4 separate regions of the Homo sapiens genome follow, and all the other regions are linked to region 2. Evidence: promoter capture Hi-C in human tissues and cell types (Jung and others, 2019). All regions are on one chromosome and are shown on one strand. The core of a region is centred on a gene start or on the middle of the fragment in contact, and the rest is flanking DNA. Distances in the headings are between cores, read along the strand shown.

The links. Contacts are between HindIII fragments. The study calls those that stand out against the background at their distance.
Region 1: a fragment that was not itself captured here is called in contact with the fragment with the promoter of CASP3 in region 2 in 1 of the 25 tissues and cell types used here (hippocampus).
Region 3: a fragment that was not itself captured here is called in contact with the fragment with the promoter of CASP3 in region 2 in 1 of the 25 tissues and cell types used here (dorsolateral prefrontal cortex).
Region 4: a fragment that was not itself captured here is called in contact with the fragment with the promoter of CASP3 in region 2 in 2 of the 25 tissues and cell types used here (hippocampus and mesenchymal stem cells).

Annotation. Positions count from the first base shown.
Region 1 is chr4:183,876,270-183,879,360 of GRCh38, reverse strand. It overlaps a transcript of STOX2 not described here. Among named protein-coding and RNA genes, the nearest start is that of STOX2, 27 kb to the left of the region's middle. RefSeq lists an enhancer at 238-990. The HindIII fragment of the contact is 4,877 bases long and covers 1-3,091 here.
Region 2 is chr4:184,647,934-184,650,841 of GRCh38, reverse strand. It overlaps CASP3 (caspase 3), which reads left to right and starts at 1,395. Exons shown (of 8, transcript NM_004346.4): 1 at 1,395-1,447; 2 at 2,211-2,377. PRIMPOL (primase and DNA directed polymerase) reads right to left here and starts at 1,104. Exons shown (of 14, transcript NM_152683.4): 1 at 934-1,104. RefSeq lists silencers at 1,088-1,667, 1,678-1,887. The HindIII fragment of the contact is 11,001 bases long and covers 1-2,908 here.
Region 3 is chr4:185,167,047-185,170,112 of GRCh38, reverse strand. All of the region lies in intron 3 of CFAP97 (cilia and flagella associated protein 97), which reads left to right. Among named protein-coding and RNA genes, the nearest start is that of SLC25A4, 25 kb to the right of the region's middle. The HindIII fragment of the contact is 8,838 bases long and covers 1-3,066 here.
Region 4 is chr4:183,906,575-183,909,406 of GRCh38, reverse strand. It overlaps STOX2 (storkhead box 2), which reads right to left. Exons shown (of 4, transcript NM_020225.3): 1 at 2,451-2,832. The coding sequence starts at 2,616. Among named protein-coding and RNA genes, the nearest start is that of STOX2, 2.7 kb to the right of the region's middle. The HindIII fragment of the contact is 3,568 bases long and covers 1-2,832 here.

The sequences.
Region 1 (3,091 bases), core at 89-2,588, 770 kb after region 2:
TTGCTCCGTGAGGACACTGCACAAATATGTCCATGCTTGATGTATGGGCCGAGAGCAGAAAGGCGTACAAGGGATGTGTGTAGGGCTCATGGAGGTGAAGAAGGATGAGATGGTGAGAGAGAGGGTGGCAGTGAGCCCGGGGACATGCCTTCGCGAGGCTGGCCTGAGGCTGCCTGGGGTCTCTACACATAATTCTCACCAACTCCTTCACCCCATACACACGTCTAATCTTCAAACACTAAAATAATAACAAACACAGATAATTTGGGAGAGATTTATGGCTCTTGATCTTTTACAGAAACAGGCTGTGGGCACATGAAATTGATCTGTAAGTGCCAAGTCCTTTCATTACTGTGGCTGTTCTTTTTTAATAACAGACACCATTGTGCAGATTTCAAAATAGTTTAGACCTAAAAAAAAAAAAAAACTATCCATGAGTAAAGAACAATTCTAGAGAGCAGAGCTTTCACTGTAAATCTTTAGGGAAAAGAAAAAGAAAACAAAATAGAAAAACTCAGCTCACCCCTTACGGGCCATCCTTTGTGCTCCTAATCTCAATACAAAGGTTAGGATTAAAAGCATTGGCATTAAAATAGCCTGCAGTTTCTGCTTTGAAGTCTAATGATGACAATAGCTAAAATCTTTGACAACTTTTGAGAAGGCAGAGTCCTTCAAAGTCCTTTGAAATGTTAAATACTAAATTGAAGAGGTCGTTATACAGAAAATTTTTTCATTAAAGGTGCACAATGAACATGCTTTTTAGATTCACACTCATTTGGTTTTCTTTCAACACCAAGATTGCATGTATGTTCTCAATTTGCTATTGTCTGTAATTCTAATTCCAAATCAAAATCAGGACCCAACTTGCTGGATTAAACCCAGAAAACGACTGTTAAAACAGAATAATTGGTCCTTATGAAGTGACAAATATTTCTTATTTTGTAGCTGCTTTTCCGTGGCCAAAACCACCAATGAAAGCTTAAGTAATAGCTGTTTCAAAAAACACCAAAAAACAAAACATAATGAATAAACTTGGAGCAGCATTACAAGGCCTGCATTTTAGTTTTTCTTATTCCTGGGAATTCTACAAATGGCACCTTTACCAGGCAGGTTCACTGAATCTAAAAATGTCTCCAGCAAGGGCAGGCCATGGCAGAGTTGTATAAATGAAGCTTGCACTGGACAAGCTCTTCTTAGATCTCCTGGGTGCAAATCACAGCTCTTTCCTCTCCTAGCAAGCAAGTGGCCTTGGATGGTTCCTCAAGCTTTCTGCAACTCAGTTTCCAGGTCTAAAAACTTCAAGTGATAATTCTTACCTCAAGATACTGTTGTCAGGGCTTAATAGGATAAATTATGTGAAAGTGTGGCATAAGCCAGGTACTGTGGCTCACACCTGTAATCCCAGCACTTTGGGAGGCCGAGGAAGGCAGATTACTTGGGGTCAAGAGTTCAAGACCAGCCTGGCCAACAGGGTGAGACCCCGTCTCTACTAAAAGTAAAAAGAAAAAAAAAATTAGTCAGGTGTGGTGGCAGGCACCTGTAGTCCCAGCTACTTGGGAGGCTGAGGCACGAGAATCACTTGAGCTCAGGAGGTAGAGGTTGCAGTAAGCCAAGATCGCCCCACTGTACTCCAGCCTGGGAGACAGAGCGAGATTCCTTCTCAAAAACACAGCAGCAGCAGCAGCAGCAGCGGAAGTGCGGCATGAGGCAGGTGCTTAAAATTCTTAATAAAGTTAATAACGCTTTATCCTCAACCAGAAACTCAAAGCTTCCATGCGTCCCACTCCACTGTGCAGAGCACGCATACAGAGCATGCAAAACGGCTCTGCAACAAAGTTACAGACCCTATTTTCTCCCTTGGTCAAAAGTAATCTCTATATGCTCTGATCCATTGATTCTTTTGGTCAGTGAATTAACCTGAAAACCAGATTCATGCTAACATACTGGCTGGTGTTCATGTTTCCCCTACTCCAAAACATTTTAGCATCATCTTTCTGGAAATGTTTGGGATCTGGTTAAAATGCAGATCCTGTAGGTCTGTGTGCGGACCCGAGATTCTTCATTTCTCTTGAGCTCAAAGGAGATGCTGACGTGCTGGTCCCCAGACCATACGCTTTGAGTAGCAGGACTTTAGTTCAGGGGATAGCAAGAATCAGAGACTCACAGAACTTAGAGCTAAAAGAGATTGTTTTTATCCCAAAGATGGAAGACTCAGCAAATTCTGCCCACATATAATTTTTTTAGTTTTGGTCCTCATCATATTTTTTGAAATTGGGTAAGTTTTACAGATTTATAGCATTAAAAAAACCCAAAAAACACAGTCTCATAGTATGGGCCTTTTTTCCTGAAGCCGAGTGGTGGCCCTATAGAGGGGCCACACATTCTCCAAGACCCTCCCCAACACAAAGACTGAACGGCACGGCCATGTTCCAGGATGCAGGAACTACTGTCAACCGTTCTCAGTCTAGAAAACGCTTCTCCATTCGCACTCACAATGGAACTCACAGGGCTTTGTGCACGTTTCAAGAAACGTCAGAATAGAATGCCCGCTTGGCCCACTTCACTGGTTTACATGACCTTCCTGGCAACCCCACTCGCTCTGCAGACAAGAAAGTGGGAGGCGCAGCCGTGAACGACTTGGCTCAGGCCACAGGGCTGGGCAGCAGAGAGGAGGGGAGGTGCTGGGTCCCCTACGGGACAATGAGAACTACTGACAGCTCAGCAGGCACCCTGAGCGGCTGCCTCCATACAGGTGGGGCCTCAGCACCTTTCAAACCACTGGCGCTGGCAACCTCTCCTTGCCATCCCGGCTCAACATGACTAACTACTTTCACTTTTAAAAACCTCCTTTCTGGTGCAGTTCCATGTCTGGTTATTAATACCATAAACAAGGAATACCAAGAAGCCTATCCGTCATCCACTTACGTCATCCACTTATCTGACCTCCTGGTCAGAGCCAACCAGGAGGCTGAGCCAAAGCTGGCATCTCCCCCAAAGGAAAGGAGCCCAGGCCTCCCGGGCCTGCTGCACACTCTCTGGAAAGCCATTACGCACAGCCTTTGCAGTCTGGGAGGCTGCCAAGAGCTTGGGA
Region 2 (2,908 bases), core at 146-2,645:
TTTCTGTGCAGAATATAGTCCCTATAGTCGAATAGGCGCAAGTGTTAGAAACAGGCTCTGCCATGGGGTCCCTGAATCTGACTTCTGAATGTCAAGAACTTTTTGAAATCTGATGCAGAATGTCGTGCTCACATGTGTTGGTGAATTCTTCTGCGAAAATGATTCACAGTTTGCTTCAGGGTCTGAAATGAGTTCACGACCCAAAATAGGAAGGGGATCGGTAGGGCAGTGTATATAGCACACCATTGACGTAACCATTAATAACTCCATCTTAGGAGAAGACCCCATTTTTACATTTCATAAGGCATTTGCCAACAAGCATACTATACTTTAATAAACAAATAAAAAAATAGTCCGCATCCAGCCAGGTAAGGACACAAACAAGCACTCTCTTCCATTACCAGTTCTCACCACAGGACTCTGTGACTATAAAAGATGGGGCCTTCGGCAGCTCCCAACAGCCGGCTTAATTGACGCCGTCTTTGCAGAAGGACCTCTCGGCCCAAACCAGGCTTCTTTTCCTCTTCTTCACTCCCTCTGGATTGGTTCGTTAATCTCTTTGCCCCATCTCTTTTTCCTCATGATGTTAAATGCTACTTTGTTGTGGGATGCTTAACTTGTAACATTTATATGTGGATTAAGTACACTACTATGATGCGTGAGCGGCTTGAGCCTGTGTGTCAGGCTCTGACTACCCAGTGACCAGCAAGTGCTGAGAACTGCCTCCTTGGGAACTCCACGCAGCTCGTGGCTTTTGTGATCGAAAGAGCGTCCACAGCAGCCTGACATGGTGGAAAACACAGCATGCGTGGACCTGGTTATTTCTAGCCTGGCACCCTGATGACAGGAGGTTAAGGCTTTTGATTTAGGGAGAGAGACCTGAGGGTAACCCAAAGAAAGGCCTCAGGTCATCGCAGAGGAGACAGAAATTACCGGTGGGCGTCCCGGCCTGCTCCTCTTCTTCCCAGAGCTCAAACTGGGCAGCAGGCCTGGCTTTGTCTCCCTTCTAGGTACCCGTTGGGCCTGGCGCGGTTTCCAAGTCTCCCTCAATTTCCCTCCAGAATCCCGCGCTGGGAGCGGAAGCCCGCGGACTCTCAGGAAGACCTAGATTTCAAATCCGGGGCGGGGGAGCCGGGCCGAGCCTCAGGGCGGGACCAAAGCGGGAGGACTGGCGCGGGACGCGAGGGCGGGACCAGGGCGTGAGGACGCGGGGCGCGGGGGCGGGGCGCGCTGCGGTGGGCGGGCGCCTCCTGGGGCCCAGCCTGGGGCTGGGTTCTCGGGCGGGCGGGAGCTAGGGGACGGGCCGCAGCGGAGGCGGCGCGAGGGGCCGACAGGGGCGGGCGGGAGGCGGGGCTGGCGCTGGAGCACATCTCCCGGCGGCGGGCCGCGGAAGCAGTGCAGACGCGGCTCCTAGCGGATGGGTGCTATTGTGAGGCGGTTGTAGAAGGTATGAGGAGGCTGTGCGGTGACTGCCGCCCTCGCTCCGGGCCGTCAGCCCTGCCCCCGCTCCCTGCGTTCTCCCAGGCCCTGCGCCCGCCCGGGTACCTGCCCGGTCTGGAAGGCGGAGTGTTTGTTTTGCCACCTCGCCCGGGCGGGGGCGAGCAGTGAAGCCCGCGGAGCGAGAGACTTGGCCCGGAGGCGGGAGCCTGGGCCGGGGCCGGGGAAGCCAGGCAGCGGGTTAAGGCTTTTGATTTAGGGAGAGGGACCTGGGGGTAACCTAAGGAAAGGCCTCAGGTCATCGGAGGGGAGACCTGGCCCGGGGGCGGGAGGCTGGGCTGGGACCGGGGAGGCCGGGCAGCGCGAGGCCGGGCCGGGGAGGCCAGGCAGCGGGAGGCCTGGCCAGGGGAACCGAGCCCGGGGCCGGGAGGTCGGGCACGGGGCACCGAGCTCCGAGGGCGGGAGACCTGGCGGCCGGCCGAGTGCCGGAAGGCCGGGTCAGGCGGCGGAAGGCAGCGGCAAGCTGGGAAACGGACGGCGCTACCGCCGGCGGAGGAGTGGCCCCGGGAAGCGGTGCTGCGAGGGCTGGGGCGGCCGGGTGCTGACTGTGAGATACTCGCCCTGGGGGCTGATCCTTCCAATTTTGGACGAGGCTTCCGTCTCTGCTGCCTTCCATGCCTGGGGCCTGGATTATCCCGGGTTGACAATGTGGTTTAGCTCTTCCAGAGAGATAGTTGCAGGGTTTAAACTCCAATTCCTTTTCGGCCCTGCAGAGTTTCGTGAGTGCTCGCAGCTCATACCTGTGGCTGTGTATCCGTGGCCACAGCTGGTTGGCGTCGCCTTGAAATCCCAGGCCGTGAGGAGTTAGCGAGCCCTGCTCACACTCGGCGCTCTGGTTTTCGGTGGGTGTGCCCTGCACCTGCCTCTTCCCCCATTCTCAGTAAGTGGCACCCAAGCAGGAAACCGGAAAACATCGTTCGCAGCCCCCTCTCGCCCACCCACTTCTTTTCCTGCTTAGTCGCCAAGCCTTGTCGACCTTGTAAATGTCTGCCAGATCTGTCCGCGTCTCTCTATCTCTGATTTCAGCCGTCTGACCACAGCAGCCTCTTCCCTGGTCTCTCCACTTCCAGACCCGCCTGCTCCTTTGCAGTCCACTTTTTACAGCACAGGCAGAGGGATCTTTATGAAATGAAAGTCTAGAAAGCTCGTCCTTTGCCCTTAGGTTAAACCCAGCACTTAATATGGCTAACAAACCCCTGCGTGTGTTGGGTCCTGAGTGCCCCCACCCCTCCTTATCTTTAGCACCGGTTCGATTTCTGCACGGCAATGCTGACCTTCATACCTAGTGTCTGCCTGCAACACCTCTGCACTCCCTTTCTCCCGCCATCACATTTGATTAGAAGAGCTGCTACTTAAATTTCTGTTTTCATTAAACAGTTTAAGGTTAAATCTTCCTATGCTGTGTTCTTTC
Region 3 (3,066 bases), core at 506-3,005, 520 kb before region 2:
GCTTCCCAAAGAGCAAGGATTACAGGTGTGAGCCACTGTGCCTGGCCTGTAGGAGTAACTTCAGAACTCTTATGTGGAATAATTAAAGGGAGATTGTGATAAATTGTCACAAAAATGATTTATAGCAAGTCTCATACCTACTATGAATATTAATCTGTTGATTAACAGTACTTTTGTTCTAAGATCTTGAAATAATGTATACTTTACTTCATTGGGGTTTCCTTCTTGTCTGGTTAAGGTCTGTTATCTCCTTCCGTTGAAGAAAGCAAGCTAATGATAACTCAGTGTGACTCCCACTGTTGAAATGTAGAGAGCAGTCGTCTTGATTCTGCCTGTGTGGGGGACAGTTGTTACTTTTTAGTGTCCTTACAAGGTCTTTGCTTCATCGCTCTAGAAACACTAAAGCAACTCTCCTCTGCTAACGGCTGCAGAAATCATTAAGACATTTATTTGTTTACATTTGTTTAAACATCAAAAGATGGGCTAGGTTAATTTTTTTTCCAAAGAGAATAATTCCTGGATATAAAATAAATGTTTGGACAAGTGTATTAGTCCATTTTCATACTGCTGTAAAGATACTACCTGAGACTGGGTAATTTATAAACAAAAGAGTTTTAATTGACTTACAGTTCTGCAAGGCTGGAGAAGCCTCAGGAAACTTAGAATCATGCTGGAAGGCGAAGCAGAAGCAAGGCATGTCTTACATGGTGGCAGGATAGAGAGAGAACACAGGGGAAACTGCCACTTTTAAGTAACTCAGATCTCATGAGAACTCCCTCACTATCACGAGAACAGCATGGGGGAACCACCCCCATGATCCAATCACCTTCCACCAAGTCCCTCCCTCCATACGTGGGGATTACAATTCGAGATGAGATTTGGGTGGGGACACAGAGTCAGACCGTATCAATAGGTATATAACACAGTATTGTTAACTATAGTCAACATGCTGTACATTAGATCTCCAGAACTTACTCATCTTGCATGACTGGAACTTTGTACCTTGGGTACTTGACATTTGCTAAGAGACTAGATCTTAGGTGTTCTCACCACACACATAAATAAAAATGGTAACTCTGTGAGATGATGGATGTGTAAGTAGCTCAAGTGTTATTTCAGCATGTATACCTATATTAAAACTTCAAGTTGTTTACGTTAATATACATAATTACCCAAAATTGCACCTTTTTTTTTTTTTTGAAACGGAGTCTTGCTCTTGTTGCCCAGGCTGGAGTGCAGTGGCACGATCTCGGCTTGCTCCAACAACCTCCAGCTCCTGGGTTCAAGCAACTCTCCTGCCTCAGCCTCCCAAGTAGCTGGGATTACAGTTGCCCACTAATTTTTGTATTTTTGTACAATGCCCAGCTAATTTTTGTATTTTTAGTAGAGATGGGGTTTCGCCATGTTGGCCAGGCTGGTCTCGAACTCCTGACCTCGTGATCTGCCCGCCTCAGCCTCCCAAAGTGCTGGGATTACAGGCGTGAGCCACCGTGCCTGGTCTTTTATTGTTATTTTTTGAGACAGAGTCTTTCTGTCTCCCAGGCTGGAGTGCAGTGATGCAGCACTCTGCCTCTGCCTCCCAGGTTCAAGTGATTCCCCTGCCTCAGCCTCCCAAGTAGCTGGGATTACTGGTGTGTGTCACCATGCCTAGCTAATTTTTGTATTTTTAGTAGAGATGGAGTTTTACCATGTTGGCCAGGCTGGTCTCAAACTCCTGACCTCAGGTGATCTGCCTGCCTCAGCCTCCCGAAGTGCTGGGATCGCAGGTGTGAGCCACCGCACCCAGCCAAAAAATGCAATTTCTGAAAAAAAAAAAGTGGGCAAACTCTTTTGGGATTCATTATTAGAATCTGATTTGAGTGGCAGTTCTAAGATTTTGTAAACCGTACATTACCATTCTTATTGTTTTTTAATCCATTAAATATTTGTTTAGTATTTGTTATGAGCAATGTAAGGAAGGAATATAAAATACATATGAAATACTCCCTTAACTGTCATGTACTTTAAAACTTAGCTGGGAAGATAATACTGTTGCATGTCAAACAACTAGAAAATACAGCAATATTAACAATACCACTAATTTTAATAAGTTCTTTTTTTTTTTTTTTTTTTTTGAGAAGGAGTCTTACACTGTCACCCAGGCTAGAGTGCAGTGGCACAGTCTCGGTTCACTGCAACCTCCGCCTTCCAGGTTCAAGTGATTCTCATGCCTCAGCCTCCGGAGTAGCTGGAACTGCAGACGTCTGCCACCACACTGGGCTAATTTTTTTTTGTATTTTTAGTAGAGATGGGGTTTCACCATGTTGGCCAGGCTGGTCTCGAACTCCTTACCTCAAGTAATCTGCCTGCCTCAGCCTCGCAAAGTGCTGGGATTATGGGGTGAGCCACCACGCCCAGCCTGAATAAGTTCTTGCTAGATACTAGGCACTATTTTAAGCACTTTAGATGCATTCTATCACTTAATTACTAAAAACTGACTCTGAGGTTATTTCGTTATTAATATCCTTATCGTGGAATTTGATCAAGGACACAATCAGTGGCAGAGCCAAGTGTTAAGCCCAAATCTTTCTGACCATATAGCTTATATTTATTATCACTGTATTACAATCGTTACAGCATTTTGAAATTTTTTGTTTGTTTGTTTGTTTGAGATAAGGTCTTCCTCTGTCACCCAGGCTGGAGTCTAGTGGTGTGATCATGACTCACTTGCAGCCTCGACCTCCTGGACTCAAGCCATTCTCCTCTGCCTCTTGGGTAGCTGGGACCACAGGCACATGCAACCACGCCCGGCTAATTTTTGTATTTTTTGTAAGAGACGGGGTCTCGCCATGTTGCCTAGGGTGGTCTTGAACTCCTGGGCTCACACGATCCTCCTGCCTTGGCCTCCCAAAGTGCTGGGACTACAGATGTAAGCCACTGCACCCAGCCTGAACTGTTGTTTTTTAACTTTTGCATAAGAGTTCTAAATTGATGACTAAATTAAAATGCATACACTTTTGATTTTGGGGCTTACACCAGGGGTGTCCATTCTTTTGGCTTCCCTCAGCCACACTGGAAGGAAAAAAA
Region 4 (2,832 bases), core at 261-2,760, 740 kb after region 2:
ATATGAAAGGCCTCATGTGTTTCTAAGTGGTTTCATTTTCTACTCAATATTTTATGTGACAAAGGCTCTGTTTGTATCCAAAGTCACTAACTTGATAAAAGTGGATCTCCTTTACATTTCCTAAAAGGATGAGAATGTCTTATAAATCATTTCCAAGTGTTTCAGTATATCATCTATTTCTATCAATACTCACATTTTGAAAGGAGCCATATTTGTAAAGGAAATAGATGAAGATACACATCCTTCCCAACCCAACCCCCAAAAGAGTTGCACATGAGAAAGACTCCACCTACTCTCCCAATCTTCATTGTAGGTGTTTGTCATCATGTTTACCATTTCCTTCCATAGCAGCAACACCTGCTTCTTATTCCATGTATTAGCTAACAGTTAAAATAAAGAATAAATGATAAGCCTCCCTCCCTGGGCAAGAACCGTATTATATCCAACCCTATAACCCCATGAGAATCCAGCAAGGCACTTCGCTCTTTGGGGGCACGCCATAAAAATGCTGAATGAATGACAGCACTTTTCTTCCATCTTTTGGTCTTCAGGTTTCTCAGCAGTAACCTAACATTGAATCTGAACAGAAAACCGCCAACCTGAAACAGGTTATCCTTCATTATCACCATAGGACCATCTTACCATTTGTAGATCAAGAAATAAAATAAGGGAATCAAGTACAATTAAAAGCTTCTTCCTCAAGCCCTCAAAAACGCCTCGCAGCACCTGCAATAGCAGACAAGTTCTTTTGCAAAGAATGCAAATGTGATAATGAGGTAATGCCAAGATAGATTAAAAAAAAAAAAAAAAAAAACTGGCTGCCTGGAAATGTGCCTGAATCATGAAACAGAGTGTTGCAGGTTTGTCGATGAAATGATGGCCACCAACCCTCCTATAGCTTCACAGTTGGTGTCAGGACCGGTTCCTTAGGAGGCATAAGAAAGGGGAACTGTGAAGTGTGGAATGAAGACATTCAAACCCTAAGTACATGAAACCCAGGATTATCTGAACACTTAGTGCAGCAATGGGTTTATGTACATATGTGTTTTGAGGTTAGGTTTGCATTTAGGTGTGTTTCAAAATTTACTGCCACAAGTCTGAAGAGTGTAGCAACCACAGCAGCGACTTAAATGACTGAAGTATAAACTGTAGTTGTCACTTTCTTTACGAATTTGGCTTTTCATGAAAGGGAAAATCAAGGGAGCCTTATTGCCAAAATAGTACAACATCCTTATGTCGCCTGACTTTGCAATAAAAAAGATGGTTCTTTTATTTCGGCTTTATGTTCGTGGAAATGCGGTCGCAAGGCATTTTTGAAGCATGAGATGCTGACCCCAGTTAAAAAGGACTTGCTGTTTTAGGAGAAAAAGAGTAAAGCTAGACTGTAAGTACCAACCACAAGCTTAAAATGATCTTCCCAGTTAAGACAGGGCTCAGAGTGATTTGGTACAGTATGTGGTTTAAAATAAAATCTCGGTTCTTCCATTACAGTGTGCTTAGAAGAAAATCTAAATTTTTCTCTGAATGAAAAATAAATAAGAACCGATGCCTTACACATCATTACATCCAAGTGGTTAAGGAGAAGTAAGGAGAAGGCAACGGAAGGTTTCCAGGCTTTTCCTCCTTCAGCATTTCCCTCAAGAATTTCATCCCTGGGTTCCCAAATCAAACCAAAGCCATTCCGTTGTATTTCCAAAAAAAGAACTGGCTCCTTCAGGAAGGCTTTTCACAGCACTGCATTTTAAGCGGAAATCTTTTTTGAAGCCTTCCCTTTCCATTTACCGTTTTGTTTGTCCCTCCTGTCTGACATGCAAACACATGATACAGCCTCCATTCTTTCCATACAGCCTAATTCAAAGCAACATATGTTAAATCCACACAGAATCATGTGAGCATTCAATCCGCATCCACACCATTACCCCCACAGAACGCGTTCAGTAAGCTCCAACACAGTTCTCTGCGTGCAAATCAGACCAGCCTGGGATGTCTGCAGGACTCTCCCCTGACTCAGCCCATCCAGAGCTGCGCATGGAACCTGTTCCTTTTGGAGAACAGGGGGCTGCTGGAAATACCCACTCAGATAACCGGCCACAATGCAGCAGCCAGCAAGCCTGGCACTGCAGGCAACCCTGGGCGCAGGATCCTCCACAAAGCTCGAGGAGGCTGCAGCGCCGGGGCTTGCAGTCATTTATCTCCCTGCAGCCAAAACGCCCGGCTCGTCCCCCCTCCCTCGTTTTACCTAACTAATAGCTCTCCAACCCCATATTGAGAGGGCCTGCTGTGGATCTTGGGAGGTACAAAATGGTGGATGGGAGCTAATTTTTTCCTGCTTTCCCCATAACTTATCGCATCCATCACTGCCCGTCCTCTCCTCCAAGCACCCGGGCCGCGGCGTACCGAGCACGTCCCGCGGCCCCGGCCCGGGGGCAGAAACGCGGTCACCAACCAACCTGATGTCATGTAGCCCCGCGAAGCCTGGGGCGCGAAGGCCGCGGGGAAACGCTTGTGCAGGCGGTAGTCCTTCTCGCTGCGGGACCTCATGCGGTCCGAGGCCCGGTCCGAGAAATCCGAGCTAGGCCAGGCTCGCCGCAAGGTTGTGCTCCGGGTCTTCTTCATGGTGGGGAGGGCGACCTGCCGCCCCGATCCTCGGGGCCTCAGCGCCGGGGCGCAGCGCGCTCCTTCATCCGTCTACGGCGGGCACGACCCGGGCGGACTCTGCGCACATTTTCCCAGCCCCTCCTCGTCGGCGTCTACACCGCCAGCGGCGGGTCCGGCCCTCCCCACGCCCCCCCACACCCCCACGGCGAAGGCTCCGATTTTACACACGTCCCA